Linked DNA regions of Homo sapiens: regions 1 and 2 are each linked to region 3. The links are contacts of gene promoters, found by promoter capture Hi-C in human tissues and cell types (Jung and others, 2019). All regions are on one chromosome and are shown on one strand. Each heading gives the region's core, a stretch centred on a gene start or on the middle of the fragment in contact. The rest is flanking DNA. Distances are from core to core; before and after follow the strand shown. Region 1 overlaps CTNNBL1 (catenin beta like 1). Region 2 overlaps CTNNBL1 (catenin beta like 1). Region 3 holds the start of VSTM2L (V-set and transmembrane domain containing 2 like).

What was found. Contacts are between HindIII fragments. The study calls those that stand out against the background at their distance.
Region 1: a fragment that was not itself captured here is called in contact with the fragment with the promoter of VSTM2L in region 3 in 4 of the 25 tissues and cell types used here (H1 embryonic stem cells, IMR-90 fibroblasts, dorsolateral prefrontal cortex and 1 more).
Region 2: a contact is called between a fragment that was not itself captured here and the fragment with the promoter of VSTM2L in region 3, in 5 of the 25 tissues and cell types used here (H1 embryonic stem cells, bladder, dorsolateral prefrontal cortex and 2 more).

The regions. Positions count from the first base shown.
Region 1 is chr20:37,732,504-37,735,203 of GRCh38, forward strand. It overlaps CTNNBL1 (catenin beta like 1), which reads left to right. Exons shown (of 16, transcript NM_030877.5): 2 at 376-564. Among named protein-coding and RNA genes, the nearest start is that of CTNNBL1, 40 kb to the left of the region's middle. The HindIII fragment of the contact is 3,761 bases long and covers 1-2,700 here.
Region 2 is chr20:37,711,352-37,714,051 of GRCh38, forward strand. The region is part of intron 1 of CTNNBL1 (catenin beta like 1); the gene reads left to right. Among named protein-coding and RNA genes, the nearest start is that of CTNNBL1, 19 kb to the left of the region's middle. The HindIII fragment of the contact is 3,882 bases long and covers 1-2,700 here.
Region 3 is chr20:37,901,679-37,904,378 of GRCh38, forward strand. It overlaps VSTM2L (V-set and transmembrane domain containing 2 like), which reads left to right and starts at 1,449. Exons shown (of 4, transcript NM_080607.3): 1 at 1,449-1,793. The coding sequence starts at 1,673. All of the region lies in intron 2 of LOC124904896 (a long non-coding RNA gene), which reads right to left. RefSeq lists an enhancer at 749-1,712. The HindIII fragment of the contact is 19,122 bases long and covers 1-2,700 here.

The DNA of each region.
Region 1 (2,700 bases), core at 65-2,564, 170 kb before region 3:
GTGAAATGGCAAAACTGCGTATAAAAAAATTCCCACTGACTTTCATGGTATATTTATAGAATCATTAAGGATCTGAAAAATGACCACATAGAGCTTTACCCCATGTGGTGGGAGAAGTTGTATGCTGGATGCTTTTGAGTCAGAGAATTCTTGAAAGCTTTTAGGATATTTGCTGTCTATGCCTTGCAAAGTCTTTTTTTGTATTTTTTGTAGAGTCAGGGTTTTACCATGTTGCCTCAGGCTGGTCTCAAACTCCTGGGCTCAAGAGATCTGCCTGCCTTGGCCTCCCAAAGTGCTGGGATTATAGGCATGAGCCACCACGCCTGGCTTCTATGTTGTATCCAGCTCTAAAATCTTATGTTTCTTTTCTCTCAGCCCAATAGGGGCACAAAACGTCCCCGGGATGATGAAGAGGAGGAGCAGAAGATGCGTCGGAAACAAACTGGTACTCGAGAACGCGGCCGCTATCGGGAAGAAGAAATGACTGTGGTGGAGGAAGCGGATGATGACAAAAAAAGGCTGCTGCAGATTATTGACAGAGATGGGGAAGAGGAAGAGGAAGAGGTAACGTGGCAGCGCTGGGTGGGAGCTGAGATGGCTGGCCCTGTAAAACGTAATTTTGGGCCAAATACTAAGCTTGTCTGAGCTTCCCATCTTCATCTGTAAAATGGGGTTAAGAATTCATATTTCATCGCGTTAATGTGAAGGTTAAGTGGGCTAGTGCAGTTGGGAAAGCATCTTATGAGATGTAAAGAATGTGACAGAGTTTTAAAATTGTTCCATATTATGTACTGTAGGGGAGGGTCAGGGCAGGCTTCCTGGATCTTACTGAGGACACATAGAAGGCACTTGCATTATTATCTTTGAAAGAGGGGTCAAATTTCACCAAGTGGAAGGAAGGGCTTTTTGGGCAGAGAAAATGGTATTAGCAAAGCAACAAAAGTGGAGAAGTTTAATGGGTTCCACAGTATTAGGTATTTAGGTGTGACTGCAAAAGTACAGCTTAGGGAAGGAGATTCCTCGGGCCTTTCCCTTTGCTGTTCCTCAAGATGCGTTGGGGCCTTTCCACTCATTCCTGCCTCTGGACCTTTGGACTTCTGTGTCCTCTGTTGGAATGCTCGTCTCCCTTAATGCTTTGTATGACTGGTTTCTTCACATTCAGGTCTCAGTTCAGATGTTTCCTCCTCCAAGAAGTCTTTCCTATGTAGCCCTGCAAGCCATTCTCTCATTTCCTCATTACTGTATTTTGTATATTGTCTGCATAGCACGTATCATGATTTGAAATTCTAGTTGTTTATTTTGCTCATTGCTGTCCTCCTCTCAGCCTCCCATGAAAACAGAGACTGGCTCTGTTCTGTTCACAGCTCTATCTTTGGCACCCAGAGCAATACCTAGCTCTTGGTAGGCCCTTAATAAATATTTATTGAATGAATAAATGAATGAAGCTGGGAAGAGTAGAGGTAAAATATCAGTGATTAAAAACAAAATGACCTTACCTCTGTGTCTTTTTAAATCTTTAAGTGTTAACTTGTGTGTTATTTCACTCTGGCATTTTGTTCAATATGAATTATGGAAATAAGAGTCTTAAGAGCCAGCTGTTTTTTGGTTCTCTCAAAGACACGATGCTAAGTTTGGATTACAAAATGAGGTTGGCTGTGAATCTGAGAAGAAGAAAAAATGGATTCATATTCCAAAAAGGTCTTTACTGTGTTGTGACAATAGCTCTGTCTTTATTAGGATTTGTACTAGTGCTAATTTGGGGGTCTCCCGCTAAAAGATGATGGCACTTTAGAAATACGTGGTGGGAGACAGTCCTGAATTTTTTAATTTCCTCTCTGAGGGCAGCAGCCTTGCCAGGGCTTAGACAAACAGTGTGTGTAGCACATCCTCCCTCCCTTCCCTCCTCACCAGCTTCTGCTCAATCTGTTAGCCCTGCAGCAGCAGTTAATTGGCAGGTATAATTCCCATGTAGGGCAAGGCTGGTACTGGAGGATTAGGATAGTAGCTGTCATGGGTAAGTGGTTTCTAGCCTGGGAGACAGAAATGTAATGTGGGACCAACCCGTCTGTTAAGGGACAGGGAAAAAGAGATCGCTTTGTAAAAATGACACATGGAAGGCTACAAGTCCAGGAGTTATTTTCTCACTGCCACTGAAGTCCCATTTGATGAAAAACAAGTGATGTTTGCCCCTGTAAAGTCACGTGAACTTGTAAAATATTATTGTCCTTTTTGTGCTACATCATCAGCATTCATCTTTCTGAAATCTCCCTCTGGTTTCTGACGTTGAGCTATTGGAGATACTGCTGTGGCTGATGACTAAGACTGATAATTCAGTTTTCCCCCAGTGTTGGAGAGAAATTAAAGGAGGGAAGGCCAAACCCCGGAGAGGCTAGGACTTCGGAAATCCCATGAGAGCTGTGTTAACACTAATGTGGTTTTTCTCCAGAGTGGGGCAAGATGTTAGCTAAGAAAAGAAAAAGTAGCAGATATTGAGCTTACTTGAAAGTGATTTAACCCTTTCCTAGAAATGTTTTGATTATTTTAGTTAAATTCTAGTGGTATGTTGGGTACATTGTGCCTGTTGCTGATAATAACCATAACAGCTTGCATTCATGTAGTTTACAAAGTAGTTTTATGTACATCCTTTCTTTAGGTCATCTCTATGACCTTGAGAGATAACAGGTAACAATTTCATTCATC
Region 2 (2,700 bases), core at 40-2,539, 190 kb before region 3:
TTTGGGGCGGTTAGCAAATTTCATTTGGATTAGTGCTCCATATTGAACCTGTCATTCTTTAATCATTCCATACATATTTATTAAATGCCTACTAAATGTAAGGTATTACACTAGACGTTGGGAATAAAGTGCTAAACAGGATAGTTGTAGTCCCTGTCTTTATGGAACTTACATCCAGGGAGGCAAGACAGACAATGAATAACAATACCTAAACAAGCAAACACATACTAGATAAATAAAAACAAGATAATTTCAAATAGGAATATGAAGGAAAAAAATAGGCTGATGTAATATAGTGTTGGGGGAGCAGTGGCTGTTTATTTTGGAAGGTTCTAGAAGGCCTCTTTGAGAGGTGACATTTGAGCTGTGAACTAAATGATGAGAAAGATCCAGACATATGAAGAGCTGTGGGACTGGCAGTAAAGATCAAGGGAAAAGCCAAAACAAAAACTCTGAGGTGGGAACAGACTTGTCATGTATGGCCAGAGCTTGGTGAGTGAAGAGGGGACAGTTGATAAGGACAGAGGGGTCAGCTTCGGGGAGGAGGGAGAATCCTAACATTTTTTAACTTTATTCCTAGCACCATGGGAAGCCATTAGGGGTTTTAAGCTGTCGAGTGACACAATTTGGTTTACGTTTTAAAAGATGGCTTCATCTACAGAGTGGAGAATTGTAGAGGAGCATTCTGGCCAGCTTAGCTGTGGGAGGGTGTGGAATTCACCTTTGTGCTGCAGAGGGCCTCAGCTGAAGCCATGCTGTCCCTGGGATAATTGCTTTCCCGCCTAGGTTGTTTTCACAATCTCCACTTCTAAACATTTAATCTGTGTTCTGGCTTAATCAAGAAGCAGCGCTCTCCTTGTGCCAGGCTTGGCTCAGAAAATGTGGGCATCGTGCCTTTTGTTGAGCGCCCTGGCCTGGAGAGAATGAAGAAAGCATCCCCTCATGGCCTGAGGACAATGCAGCTGACCCTCAGCACCTGGTAACTTGTAGGAAGCTTTAGAATCTATAAACTTGATGTGCTTCTGCAAAACAGTTGCAGATGGTCTGAAGTGATGATTAAATATCACTGCCACTTTGCCCAGATCTGCTATGGCCATTCTCTCCATGTCTGGTTTTACATTACAGTGGGTAATTAAGGGGGCACAACCATTTCTAGTTACTTCCAGGCCATCTTTTTCAATTGGCTTATGGGGAAATTACAGTTGCTGTCAGTTGTGTAAGTGACTGCATTGAGCAGCGATTGTGAATGGCTACTTTTTGTGTTCAAAATAATACTAATACAAAACACCCAAACTTAAAAAGAACTGTTCCTAATGAAAGGGAATAATTGCCTGCCTCTGCTGTCTCTGCTGGATCTCCACTGGGAGTTCTGCCATCAGACTTGTCAGAGTTGGTTGGCAGGGACTTTTTCTCCTGAGTTAGCACATAGAGATATGAACGGGCAGAGATAACACAAATTAGCAAAGATACAAGCATATCTGCAGAGGAACAGATTTCCTTCCGACCAGAAGTGCCGTTGGTGGGCACCACCCTAATTTTCAGTGCATCTCTTAGTGCTGATGACAGGACTTTTCAGCAAATTTTTTAAAAAATGGCTTAAGCACCACCGGACCTGGGCAGTTTTTATAAGATTTTAGAGTTTCAAAGGGCTGCTAAGCTTGCCAATGTAAAGTCACTGAATATTGTCTCCCTGGCTGCTCACTGGGGATCCTTACACCTCACTCAGCATGATGAACTTGGAGACAGAAATTCGTAAGCTTCAGCCCCATTTTTTTTGACTGAAGATTTCTTTTTCCATTCCCACAAAACTTGCAAGGACACAGAAGGCTCAGTGGGGGAAAAAGATGGCATGTGCCTCTGGCTGACATGACTTGTGCCAGTGGTTGCGTGGGGATTCCATAATGAAGACTGCAAATCACTTCCCATCCTCTTGGAGCCTGTCCCATAATTAGAAGATTAAACATTTTGTTTAAATTGGTAATTTTTTCCCCCTCCCCTCTCTGAGTGCTTAAAACCACCATTAGAGCAGAATGGAGACTGGTTAACTGATTCTGGGCTCCATGTTCTAGTTGTGATTGTCAGCAGGCGGTTGAGGAAGTCTTATTTTAATTAAAAAAGCAATTTTTAGCTATGCTTCACCTTGTGTGAGGCAGAGGCACCTCTGACCGTGTGAACTTTCTGATTGCTGAATGTACTGAGCATAGCTTTTCTCAGGGGCATGACACCAAGCCTAGGCAGATAATATCATGGGGTGGGTGTGCAGCTGGCCTTGAGGTATTGCCTCTGCACTAATGGCAGATTTGCTCTTCATTTGACAGATTGACTTTGTGTTTATGGGCAGGGTGTCACAGGGATGGCGTGTTCCTGAATTTAAGTGAATGCAAAGCAGCTCATAGAGGAGCATGGAAATTTTCCTACTTTTAATGAAATAAAAGAATATACGTTTTCTCCTTCCCATGAAACCAAGCCAAAAGAACAAAACAAAGGGCTGAGGACTACTCGGTATCAAAGCCCACTGAGAGCCAGGCTTTGTGCTGTTCGACTTATGTGTGTTATCCCATCTCATCCTAAAGGCAACCCTGGGAAGTCAATATTCTTAGTTCCATTTTGCAGATGAGGAAAGGAAGCTCACAGAGGTTTGGTAACTTGCCCAAAGATACCCAGTAAGTAGATGGTGGAATCTTCTTCCTAGAAGAGGGC
Region 3 (2,700 bases), core at 199-2,698:
ACCTTGTTCTCAAACTTGGGCGCTGTACACACGGCTGGACGCGGGATCCACCTGTGTTCTGGAGTGGGGAGTGGGCTGTCGGAGGGGTTGACCCTGTTCGACGGGGACGGGGAAGAAAGTCTGAGGGTCTGTCCACGGTGTGAACCCTAGCATCAAAGGGCCAGTTGAGACGCTGTCCACGGTGCCCAAAGGATGGGCCCGGGTGGGGCGGGGGGCGGGGGGCGGGGGGGGGGCTGGCGCTGTCCTCCTCCGTGGTGCTGAAACCGGGAGGACCAGGCTGTGTGAGCAGGGAGGCCTGGGGAAGGGCAAGGGATGAGAGCAGGAGGGACCCCGCCCAGGAGTCAGGGGCCTCGCCCGACTCGCCGTGGGACCTCAGAGAAGCTAATTACCTGATTTCAGGCGCTTCCTTATCTTTTAAATGGGACCACAGTTCCGCCCTCCTGTCTGTCCCATCAGCCCCAGTAACACGGCTTGGGAAGGAACTGGAGGACTTTGTTGGATTCTTGCTCTTGGGAATGGGAATGGTGCCCTATCCCCCTCCCCTGCCACACTCACACACACATACACCCACGCATACGCGCGCGCACACGCACACGCACACACACACTCATGCACACACACACCATCAAGGCTCATTGGTCTAGGGAAGGAGCCTACAGTCCAGAAGGGGGCGATCCCATCCACCACATAAGGTCCAGTATCTTCAAGAGCCAGGAGCCGCAACAACTAACTGGCCTGTCTCTCTCCCATTACAAAGACTCGAAAACTGAGTCCCAGAAAGGGGAACACCGACAATAATAACTACTGAGCTCCTACCACGTAGGCAGCATTATGCTAAGCGCTTTGCATGCACGATTTCGCAAATCCTCACCAGGACCCCCGCAGACAGCTATTACCCCTATTTCTCAGATGAAGACTTCGAGGTTCAGAGAGGGGTAGACACCCGGACGCGATCACACAGCGAGCCGAGGTCGGCGGCAGAGCTATCACCAGGTCCCCTGGGTCTCAGCCCAGGCTCCCACCCTACCTCGCCCTCACCCCCAGCCCCACTGGCCCCTGACCCCGGCCCCGCCCTGCCGGTAAAGTTAGGAGCCTCTGAGTGCGCTGGCCTGGCGGCGGGTGCCCTGGCTTTTCTCCCTCTCCCCGCTGGACGGCATTTCTGTGGCTGAAGCCCGTTGGGTCGTGCTTTGCGGGAACCGCGTCCCTGGGGTGGCTCTCTCCGCCCCATCCCGGCCCCGCCTCCGCACTCGGGCGGGGGAAAGTTGCGGGTACCGCTTTAAAAATCCCAGCCTGGGCAAAACTTTGATGATAAATCAAGCGGCAGATCCCTCCGCCGCCTGCTCCGAGCGGGAGGAGGGAGGGGAGGAGGGAGGGGAGGAGGGAGGCGGGAGGAGGGAGGAGGGTGCGGCGGCGGCGCGGCGTGGCCTTCCGCGGAAGGGAAGAGTCCCGCAGTCGGAGGCGGCCGGCTGGGCGTGCGCTCGCTCCCCGAAGCCGGGGCTGGGCCGGAGCCGGGCGAGGGCTGGGAGCTGGGCCGGGTCCGGGGACAGCGGGCGAGGGGCAGCTGCCGGAGCCGGGCAGCCAGGCCGCTCAGGGCAGGGGACAGCTGGCGCCGGTTCTGCGGTCTCCGGGGCCCAGATGTGAGGCGGCGGCGCCCCCGGCCCGAGAGCGCACGATGGGGGCCCCGCTCGCCGTAGCGCTGGGCGCCCTCCACTACCTGGCACTTTTCCTGCAACTCGGCGGCGCCACGCGGCCCGCCGGCCACGCGCCCTGGGACAACCACGTCTCCGGCCACGGTGAGTTCGGTCGCCGCCCCCGCGGACTTCCCCACCAAACCCCAACCCGGGCCGCGCCACTCCAACTTGGCCGCCCCGGGGCTCGAACCGGCGCCAGTCGTGGCGGGCATCCCGGGGCGCCCCCTGCCGGCGCGGTGGACCCGCCCTGGCACCCTGGCCCTGCAGAGAAGGGGGCACCCGGGGCGCACCCCCGAACCTCCTCCCCACACACTCGCGCGGATACGCACACCTGCATGGCCACACCGATATGCACAGCCGCGGACACACTCAGAGCCACAGTCGCTGCTTTCTCACACTCACAACTCCTACCCTGCACATCTCCACACACCTCAGGTCCCCCTCCTCACTGCAAGCCTTTACACTTATGCCCACTACACACGCACATCAGGCACTGCGCCGGTGGGCTCACTCTGCCAGCTGGCGCACACGCTTCGCCACAACTCTTGCCTGCCCACCTGCAGACACACTGGTGCGCGCGCGCGCACACACACACAGGCACACACATACACACACATGAACACAATTTGCTCACCCACTCCTCTCTGCCCATCTGCCTTTACTCTTCTGGGTTTAACCGCACAGAGGCCCTTGTCCTCTTCCTCTCCACACCCAGCCCTATACCACTGGAAAGGTCCTTGGGGGCAGAAGACCTTGTTTCTTGAGAACTGGTCGCCTGGGGCTGCAGCCTCCCAGTTGGGCGGGTGGCACCTGGTGGAAGCCCCTCAGAGCCACCGGAGTAGTTGGGGTTGCTGCTTGCAGCCAGAGGCATGGGAGTGGGAGTGGAAGTGGAATGCCGGGTGCTTTTGTCTGCCTCTGGGGATGGGCAGGAAGCCGTGCCATCCTTCCATAGGGTACCCCCATCCTCATCCTCGGCCCTAGAGGACTGAAATGTGGGAAATCTCAACTC